Regions from separate parts of the Homo sapiens genome. Here region 2 is linked to region 1. Evidence: promoter capture Hi-C in human tissues and cell types (Jung and others, 2019). All regions are on one chromosome and are shown on one strand. Each heading gives the region's core, a stretch centred on a gene start or on the middle of the fragment in contact. The rest is flanking DNA. Distances are from core to core; before and after follow the strand shown. Region 1 holds the start of FAR2 (fatty acyl-CoA reductase 2). Region 2 overlaps CCDC91 (coiled-coil domain containing 91).

Region 1 (5,272 bases), core at 669-3,168:
GTGAATAAGTAAGTTTTCATGAGTGCATGGGAATTAATGCAAAATCAAGGAATTCTTAACACTGATGAGACGTTGCCAGAAACAAATGCACTCAAGAATGCTTCTTCCTCAGGAGATAGGAAAGCAGATGGTGAGATGGTCAAGATGATCATATGCTTTATAAACCCCAAAGTGATACCCTAATATAAGCCATTTTATTTATTTTCAACCTCTCCCTCTTCCTCTGTAACTGGATGTCACATTTTAGCTTCCTTTAAGGAAAGCATATTTTCATTTACTTTAATTTCTCTAATAGCTGTATGATTTACCAACTCATGGTGATTTACATCTCTTTTATAGATAATTATAGCCCAATGTTAGAAATAGGAGTAAGTGAGGAATTTGTTAATACAGCAGGGGCAGAAGCAGCCCTCAGAATTAGGAAAAGAGTACTGTAAAGACGTGGATCCTGAGAAATACTACCGATGAAATATTGACACACGCGTCGGCCTGGTAAAAACCTCATGCCCATCTCCTAGAAGTCTCACACACAAATATCCCTTCTGCGGAAATGCCTGCTCTTGCAGTTTAGGTGGCTGCCTTAAGTTTTTATTTAGTCCCTTGCCCCCCTTTCTAAATTTTGGACTAACTACACCTGTCAGTCAAATCTCCAGCTCTTATAAATGGGAATATACAGAGATGGGTAATTGAAACCACGGGGTAATTCTCAAATTTCCATTTGCCCAGTGTCAAATTTCTCTCAACCTAGCAAACAGAAAAGCACGATCTACCTGAATTCCCTGGTCACTTTTCTGACCCTACTCTGTCCTTGCTCATCACATAATGGGGGCACTTTACGTGATTCAACGAGTGGCCAAACTCTTGCAGATCCAGCGATAACCTTGGTTGCTCACACCACATAACTCAACCGTGGAAGAAATGGTGCCACCGCTGGCAGGTGAGACGCCTTCCTCTGGTTTGTAGGATACGATTGGGCATGAATTGTTTTAATAGACTGAGACTGCCCCGCGGGTAATTCTACTTGCTAGGAGTGTTGAGCAGCCTTCCTGCAAGCCATCTACTCCAGTTGGGAGTCTGCTGGCACCTGCTCCCCTGCACACCCCCAGGATGCCCAGGCCGCAGGAAGATGTCTAAAACTTCCTACAGGGGCAAAGCCCGCCCTGGCCTCACCAGTCGCCCCAGCGCGCGTCAGCCACGACCCCGGCGAGGCCCAGGTGGGAGGGTAGGGACGTGCGCAGCCTGGGGTGGGGCTGGGGGCTGGCGAGGACCTGCTCCGGGGACCAGGACTGGGCGCCCTGGCGGTCCCAGGCACCGGGAGGGGACCTAGGACCGCTGCCGTTTCACACGTGGCCCCGGCATTTTCGCGCTCTCTCCAGGAATAGCCCCAAGGGCCCAGGAGGCCTGGGTGGGACTCGGCCCCGCGCCTCTCTTCCCGGGTCCCCAGTCCCCAAGGCGCGGCCCCCCACATTAACCTTGCTGGGTCCTTCCCGGCTTTCTGCCCTTTGCAACCCCCGCGCGCCCCACCTTGGCGGGCTCCGCCGACGCCAACCGCGCGTAAACGGCCGGTGACGATTGGGGTGCAGCCGGGGGCAGCTTCAGGGGGCAGAGCCTCCGCAAATGCTTCTCTCCTCCCACCCGGCCTCACACCCACCCTCCTCGAGGTCCCGCCGGGAACCGCCCCGCCCTGCGAACCCAGCCGAGCCCTCCCTCCTGGGCCACCCCCAGTCCGGTCTCTGCTTTTGGAGCGCGTGGGCTCTGCGAGCGCCAGGGCTGGGGACCCTGGAATACCTGTTCCTCCAGCACGAGGATGGGGTCCAACTAGTGGTCCTCTAAATCCTGCTCCTTCCCCGAGGCTACGGGAAGCGCTCCAGCCACAAGGAAACGGCTCCAGTCTTTCGGCTCCCAAACGTGACACTCTATATATCCGGCTCGGAGACTGGGTGTGGGGCGGGAGGAAACCACCCTCCCTCCGACCTTCCCCGGCTCCGCCGCTGCCTCGGCACTGGGCGCGAAACCGGCGGCAGCCTCAGCCCGGGGCGGGAGGAGGGTGAGGGGCCAGCGAAGGCCCTACAGGTCGCGGGGGCGACAGCATCGTGGGCAGGGCGGCCGCGCGCGCAGGCCCGCCCCGCGCTTCCATTCGTTCAGCACCAGCGGATCCACTGGCTATGACTCCCGCATTTGTGTGGTTTGGGGGAGGGGAGTTGGTTTTGGTTTCGGTGGGTTTGGTTTGTTTGTTTGTTTGGGGCTTTTGTTTTGTTTTGTTTTGGGTTTTGGGGTTGGTTTTTTTCTCCATTTTTTAATCAGTGGGCGAGGGGACAAGGAAGCTAGAAAGGCGCCCCTCTCTGGTGTGGGAAAGGAGAACTCCCACACCGTGAAAGGTGGCGGGGTAGGGGGGTGGAGGGAGAGACCGAGACAGGAGAGAGATTCAAAGGTTCTAGTCTGAACTGAACGCTTGGGGGACATACCTTTCCCCACCCACCCTAGCAGAAAAGGCAGCCAAAAATCCCAGTTTACTCAGCTTGACTACACTGCACATCCCGTGGGAGGGATGCTCTTGTATCTGCTAAAGACATTGCGGAGGCGCCCTGCAGTGACCCACGAACGCAGTGGCTTTTTAAAACCCAAGGGCGTGAGGGTGGAGGGTGATGCGAGGACTTCAGGTGAGGCTTCCTCACACTCGGGGTTTGAAGGGCAGAAATCCGGCTCTGCCTGCCTATGGTGGGGTGGGGGTGGGTAGGAGACTAGAAAGGATCAGAGATGGGGGCCGCAGAAACAGCAGTGAGCCAGCTGTGCTCAGCAGCACTTCTCCGGACTTAAAAGAAAAAAAGATGTTTCATTTCTTAGCCTGGTAGCTTTTTTGGGATTTGGTCATTGTTAAATTTTAAACGGAAAAACAAGCTGCCAGGGAAGCCTTGTAGAGGGATGGACAGGCACGTGAGTGGAGCCCTTGGCCTCAACCAGGAAGTGCTGAAAAACGGCCAACGCCCATCCTAATTCCCTGGACAATGTAGGAGGTAAATTTCCAAATAAATATGGTGTGTTAAGAAAAATAGAAAAGAAATATTGTCCTATAAGCTGTTCTGATTCTCCTCATTATAACAATCCACATGCAATTAAAGAAATAAAATTTGACTTTTGAAAGTTAGAATTAAGGAGTGATTTCATGAAATTAAAATAATAACACCCATCTTGAATTCTCTACTACTGGGCTCTTTAATGAAATGTGTTAAGCTAAGTGTAGCCTAAAGGCACTGACTAATTTCCTCTGGTGACCGCCTGAATGCAAGAGACAGAAAAAAAGTTACAACCAAATTTATAGTATTTTTCGTTACCCCTCCCCTCCTCAAGAATAAATTTGAATGTATCTTCAAAATGTGTGTGACAGCACTTCAAATGATAATGTCAAATGCTGGTGAAAACGTATAGAAATCACTTAACAGATAGCAGATGGAAGGTAAATTGTAATCACGCTTTTGTTGGAAAGCAATTTAGCAACACATTCCCAAGGTGTTCAGTAACGAAATTTTTTCTTGTTCTGGACCTAGATTCCCATGTCTTACAATGTATTCAAAGGAGATAATCCATAAAAGAGAAATGCCGCATGTACATAGTTGCATATTTATTACCGAGTTGTTTATAAAGTAGGAAATTAAAAGCATACTTTCAGTGGGATGTTCATAGATAAAATACAACATTAATTATAGATTACAAAACCACAATTTGATTATCACCATTTAAAACGCTATTCATATATGTAGAATGTATTAGTTTGCTAAGGCTGTCATAAGGATGCACATAAACTGGGTGGATTAAACTATAGAAATGTATTATTTCATAATTCTGGAGGCTAGAAGACCAAGATCAAGATGTCTGCAGGGTTGGTTCCTTATGAGGGCTTTGAGAGAGAATTTTCCATGATGCTTACCTACTTCCAGTGGTTTCTTGTTGGCTTGTAGACACATGACCCCTGTCTCCTATAATCTTCATATGGCATTCTCCCTATGTTCATGTCTGTGTCAAAATTTATCCTTTATAAAGATACCAGTCATATATGATTTAGAGCTCACCTTAATGGCCTCATTTTAACTTTACTAATTAAATTTGCAACAACCCTATTTCCCAATAAGGTCACATTCTAGAGTACTGGGAGTTAGGACTTCAATATGTGAAACTGGCAGGGGCGGAGAAGAACGCAGTTCCACCCATAACAGATAATAACAAAAAGAGGCAATGTAGTGGGTTGAATAGTGGCCCCAAAAGATATGTCCTGAGGCAAATCCCCAGAATCTGTGAATGTGACCTTATTTGAAAAAAAGACTCTATATTTAACTAAGTTAAATATGTTGAGATGAGATCATCCTGGGTTATCCAGATGAGTCCTAAACCCAATGGCAAATATACTCACATGATAAAAACAGAGGGAGATTTGAGATACACACACACTGGAGAAGGTGATGTGAATATAAGGCGGAGACAAACTGGAGCCACGTGGAAGCCAGAGAAGCCAAGAAATGCCAACAGCCACTAGCAGCTGGAAGGGGCAAAGAAGGATTCTCCCCCGGAACCCCTACAGGGAGCATGGCCTCAATCTTAATTTCAGTTTGCTAACCTCCAAAATCATGAGAGAATAAATTTCTGTGTTTTAAGCCACCCAATTGATGTTAACTTTGAAAGGAGTTAGCCAGCTTGCTTTAGGCAGACAGTAAGGAAGGGTCCCCAGAGAACCTCCAACCCATGTTTTGTGCAGATAAGGGAACTTGCATAGAGGACTTACCTAAACATGCCTTCAGAGGACTAAGGACCCACATGCACACTGGAAGAATGGGGTGGAGCTACCAGGAATTTGTGCCTTATACAAATAGGGAACTCAGCCTTATCAGCTTGTATGTAAAACCCCTTGTATTCAACTGTAAAGGGGGCAACTAGGAACCTGCTTTCAGGACCCCCTCTTTGCTTAGAGCTTTCCTTTTACTTAATAAATTCTACACCACTCACTCTTTGAGTGTCTGCATGCCTAATTTTTCCTGGTTATGAGACAAGAACACAGATCTAGCTGAGCTAAGGACAAAAAAATCCTGCATCAGTTTGCGTGCTCGCCTGGGATACCTGGAGAAAGAGTAAACAAAGACTGTCCCAAACCTTTCTCTTTCCTTTCTGTGCCTTCTTGTCCTCAGACTTTTTCTGAAGGCAGATGCAGCACGGAACCTCTGGTGAGCCAATTAAGAATGAATGGCACAGCTACAGAGGACAGGATGCTGGAGAGGAACCCGAC
Region 2 (5,582 bases), core at 55-2,554, 950 kb after region 1:
CACTTACTATTAATACAACCTTAGGTAAGTTTGCTCACTTGGAGACAGTTTCCTTTGTCTATGAAATGGAAAAAAATGTTACTACCAAAAAGTAGCAGTTGGAATTCAATAAAACAACATACATAAAGGGTTTTACATGAAGCTAGGCACAAAGATTTCTATAATTCTTATCAAAAGAAGAGCACAGGTGGTATATTACATTATACGTAATTCATCAGTAATTCTGTATAGATCAGTGGAAACAAAATAGTATAGGCAGAAAAGTTATTTAATGATTACAGACTCTAAACCGCTTAAAAAACGGTTTGAACTAGACCGATTTCTAAGGAACTCTGTTTCTGAAATTCAAAGATTCTACCTTAAGGTGATGCCCAAAAAGCCAATGATACTGACCCCAAATTTCTTACAATAAATAGCCTAAAGAACAAATTTCAAGAGCACCAAACAGAGGCAGTGGATATAAGAACCTGAAAAAAAAATGTATATACTTTGAGTGATAATCATATTTTTATAAATTACTTTGAAAAATTATCAGAGTTAAGCACAAATATTTAATGTTAATTTCAACAGGGAAAACTGAAATACAATTTTACTATTTAACAATAAGAAAATCATTAAATGATGGGCATATCCATATAACACAATAACCCATAACCATTACAAATCAAGTTTTCAAAATAATTCATGATGCAAGTACTCCCAATGTGATTCTGAGTGAAAAGGGCAAAATATAAAACAATATTAACAATTTTGTTTTTAAAATATATTTGCAAAAGAAAAGACTGAAAGAAAAGCCACCACAATGTTTGCAGCAGTTACCTCAGATTACTGAAAATAGGGTAACTTTTTTTATAGTCTTCCTTTATTTCCAACTTTCTACTGTAATCAACTATCATGTTCACAATCAAAAAAAGCAATATAACATTCACTTGTGATTAAATTTTAAAGCTCTAAGCAGGAGTTAAAGAGAACTTCCTTGGCTGGGTCAAAATGATATCCACAAAAAACTTACAGCTAACTACTCAATGGTAAAAGACTGTATACCTTCTCTACTAAGATGAAGAGCAATGCAAGGATATCTGTGCTGATCTGACTTGTTCTAGTTAACATTAGCAAAGGTCCTAGCCAGTGCAAAGAGACAAGAAAACAAAATAAAAGGCAAACAAATGAGAAAATGTGAAATAAAGCTGTCTCTACCAGCAGACAGCAGTAGCTACAAAAGCTACTAGAACGAACTCGTGAGTTTAACAAGGTTGTAAAATTCAAAAATTCAAGATCAATATTAAAATACTGATTCACTTACATAAGTAATTGGAAATTTAAAAATTTTTAAAGGTTACTGTTTACAACAGAACCAAACAACATAAAACATTTAGATACAAACATAACAAAATATGCGCAACATTTTTATGCGGAAAGCTTAAAAACAGAGAGAAATCAAAGACCAAATAAACGTAGAAAGGTTGTTTCATTTTGTTTTCTCTCTTGAAAGAGGCTCTCTCTGTTGCAGAGGCTAGAGTGCAGTGGCATGATCACAACTCACTGCAGCCTCTACCTCCCAGGCTCAATCAATCCTCCCACCTCAGCCTTCCAAGTATCAGGGACTACAGGTGCATGGCAACACACCCAGCTAATTTTTCTCATTTTTGTAGAGATGCGGTTTTGCCATGTTGTCCAAGCTGCTCTTGAACTCCTGGGCTCAAGCGATCCTCCCACCTTGACCTCCCAAAGTGCTGGGATTACAAGCATGAGCCATAGCAGTGGGACAGGAAAGGTATTTTATTAATGGATTAGAAAACAACATTTTTAAGATGTCAATTCTCCCCAAATGGATCCATAACTTCAATGCAATCATACTAAAAATTCCACAATGCTTTTATATAGAAATAAAGAGATTCTAAAATGTACATGGAAAGAAAAAGAACTCGAATACTCAAAAATTTTTGGCAAACAACAACAAAGTTGGAGGACTCAGGCTTTTTGACTTCAAGATACACTATAACGCTACCATAATAAGGACTGAGGTTTTAGCCAAACAGACGCACAGAACAATGGAACAAAATAGAGTCCACAAAGCAAACCACACAAACATACTCAACTGATTTTTAACAAGGCAAGCCAAAGAAATTTAATGAAGAAAAGATAGTAATGAGAGGTGAAGCCGGCTGGACTTCCGGGTCAGGTGGGGACTTGGAGAACTTTTCTATCTAGCTAAAGGATTGTAAATGCACCAATCAGAGTCTGTGTCTAGCTAACAGTTTGTAAACGCACCAATCAGCACTCTGTGTCTAGCTAATCGGGTAGGGGACTTGGAGAACTTTTCTGTGTAGCTAAAGGATTGTAAATGCACCAATCAGCGCTCTGTGTCTAGCTAAAGGTTTGTAAATGCACCAATCAACACTCTGGCAAAACGGACCAATCAGCACTCTGTAAAACGGACCAATCAGCACTCTGTAAAATGGACCAATCAGCTCTCTGTAAATGGACCAATCTGCAGGATGTGAGTGGGGCCAAATAAGGGAATAAAAGCAGGCCACCCGAGCCAGCAGCAGCAACCCCTTCGGGTCCCCTTCCATGCTGTGGAAGCTTTGTTCTTTCACTGTTCGCAATAAATCTTGCTGCTGCTCACTCTTTGGGTCCGCACTATCTTTATGAGCTGTAACACTCACAGTGAAGGTATGCAGCTTCACTCCTGAAGCCAGCGAGACCACGAACCCACCAGGAAGAACGAACAACTCCGGACACGCCACCTTTACGAGCTATAACAATGAGCTGCAACACCCACCACAAAGGTCTACAGCTTCACTCCTGAGGCCAGCGAGACCACAAACCCACTGGGAGGAACAAACAACTCAGGACACGCCACCTCTATGAGCTGTAACACTCACCGCAAAGGTCTGCAGCTTCACTCCTGAAGCCAGCAAGGCCACAAACCCACCAGGAGGAATGAACAATTTCGGATGCAGCTTCACTCCTGAAGCCAGCAAGGCCACAAACCCACCAGGAGGAATGAACAATTTCGGATGCGCCACCTTTAAGAGCTGTATCACTCACTGCAAAGGTCTGTGGCTTTGCTCCTGAAGTCGGCAAGACCATGGACCCACCAGAAGGAAGAAACTCCAGACACATCTGAACTTCTGGAGGAACAAACTCCGGACACACCATCTTCAAGAACTGTAACACTCACTGCGAGGGTCCGTGCCTTCATTCTTGAGGTCAGCAAGACCAAGAACCCACTGGAAGGAACCAATTCTGGACACAGTAAGAATAGTCTTTTTCAAGAGATGGTGCTGCAAGACTGGGGCATCCATACACACACACACAGAGAGAGAAAGAGAGAGAGAGAGTCTTGACCCCTACCTCACACTATATGCAAAAATTAACTCGAAATTGGTCACAGACCTAAATCTAAAATTTAAAGCTATAAAAGTTCTGGAAGAAAACATAAGAAAAAAAATCTTTGCAACGTTGGATTAGGCAAAATTTCTCATGATAAAAAAGCACAAATCATAAGAGAAAAAACTGATAAACTGGACTTCACCAAAATTTAAAACTTCTGCTCTTTGAAAGATACTGTTAAGAAAATGAAAGGACAAACTACAGACTCAGACTCGAAGGAAATGCTGTGAACATATATACGATAATGAATTTGTATCCAGACTGTATAAAACACTTGCAAACCAATAACAAACAACCCTATTAAAAACGAACAAACGATTTCAGCAGACACTTAATCAAAGAAGATACACAGATGGCAAATAATAGCACAGGAAAAGACGCTCAATATGTTAGAAGAAAAATTCAAATTAAAACATAAATGGGTTTTCACTAAACGCATATTAGAATAGCTAACATTAAAAATAAAATGACAAGTGCTGACCAGAATGTGGAGCAACTGGAACATCAAACATCACTTGCGGGAATGCAAAATGAAACAGCTACCTTGGAAAACAGTTTGGTAATTTCCTTCTTTTTTTTTTTTTTGTTTTTGAGACGGAGTTTCACTCTGTCACCAGTCTGGAGTGCAGTGGCACGATCTTAGCTCACTGTAACCTCCGACTCCCTGGTTCAAGCAGTTCTCCTGCCTCAGCCTCCTGAGTAGCTGGGATTACAGGCACCCGCAACCACGCCCAGCTAATTTTTGTATTTTTAGTAGAGACGGAGTTTCACCATGTTGACCAGGATGGTCTCAATCTCCTGACCTCGTGAGCTGCCCACCTCGGCCTCCCAAAGTGCTGGGATTACAAGTCTGAGCCACTGCGCCCAGCTGGTAATTTCTTTTAAGGTTAAACATGCACTTGCACACGGCCCAAGAATTCCATTCCTAGATGTGTAACCAAAAGAAATGAAAACATATGTCTACACAAAGACTTGCACCTTAATGTACAAAGAACAGCACATGAATGTTTACAGTACCTTCATTCCTAAATGCCAAAAATTGTTCATCAAATGGCGAATAAACATACTATGATATATTCACACAATGAAATACTACTCAGCTGTAAAAAACAACCAAGCATCAACAAACATGCATCAACATGGATGAATCAAAGCATTAAGTGAAAGAAACCTGAAACATAAGGCTACATACTGTATGATTCCATTTACATAACATACCAGAAAAGACAAAGCTATAGACAGGGACAGAGAACAGATCAGTGGTTGCTAGGACCTATGAGTGAGGGGAGGAAACTTTAGAATGATGGGAATATTATTTGTCTGGATTGTGGCAGTGGTTCCATTATATGCATTTGTCAGACTTTATACAGCAATATAATAAAAATTACTTTTTTACTTATAAATCATACCTCAATAAAACTTGATTTTTTTTAAAAAAAGCAACATATGCCCTTTTTAAAAATATGCATCAGTTTAAATGAGCTAAACCAAACTTACTGGGTATGGGAATAGGGCAGGGAGGAACAGTAAGGAGACCAAAAATCCTTAAAATACTGGAAATCTAAAATATTAATTTATCGTTAGTAAATAAGAAACAGATATACATAAACACCAAGAGTTAATCCAAAGAGAGATGCCTTTTTCAATTAAGTTCTCATTGTTTGGACAGAAAATAAGAAAATTTGATAAACTTTCAAGGAAGATTAAAAATCACAAGGAACAGGTTGACAAAGGAGTGCTGTAATTATGACCTACAGTTTGGGAACAACTTATCTAAAACATTCCCCTTCCATTTTACTTAATGGAACCAGTCTTATCCACCCATCCACTCTACTCCACTCCCACTCCGTCTTCTACTATCTTCATTCATAACAATCATATGTAATGCATACATCTGACACATATAGATAAGAGTACAACATAAAATGCCTATTACACCAAATTCCTGTTTGTCCATTTAAGCTCCAGACAAGCTCATTTTTAAACGTCTTTTTTCTCTATTTTAATGCCACCCAAAACCAAAGTGATGTCCCTCTGGAATGATTTTCTGCAGTTTCTTTTGTGTGTTATTAAGTACTAAGATGATCAAAATAAACAAAAATGTCTCAGAAGTTTTGAGTGGATCACTCCAATAAGAAGCTACATTTTTCCATTTAATAAAAGTTAAGAGGTAAGTTGTAACT

Evidence for each region. The method cuts DNA at HindIII sites, captures the fragments that hold promoters and counts their contacts. A contact is called where the count stands out against the background at its distance.
Region 2: a contact is called between a fragment that was not itself captured here and the fragment with the promoter of FAR2 in region 1, in 1 of the 25 tissues and cell types used here (dorsolateral prefrontal cortex).

The regions. Positions count from the first base shown.
Region 1 is chr12:29,145,924-29,151,195 of GRCh38, reverse strand. It overlaps FAR2 (fatty acyl-CoA reductase 2), which reads right to left and starts at 1,918. Exons shown (of 12, transcript NM_001271783.2): 1 at 1,789-1,918. RefSeq lists silencers at 1,551-1,700, 2,011-2,070 and an enhancer at 4,992-5,272. The HindIII fragment of the contact is 14,796 bases long and covers 1-5,272 here.
Region 2 is chr12:28,192,008-28,197,589 of GRCh38, reverse strand. The region is part of intron 1 of CCDC91 (coiled-coil domain containing 91); the gene reads right to left. Among named protein-coding and RNA genes, the nearest start is that of CCDC91, 4.3 kb to the right of the region's middle. The HindIII fragment of the contact is 6,310 bases long and covers 1-4,459 here.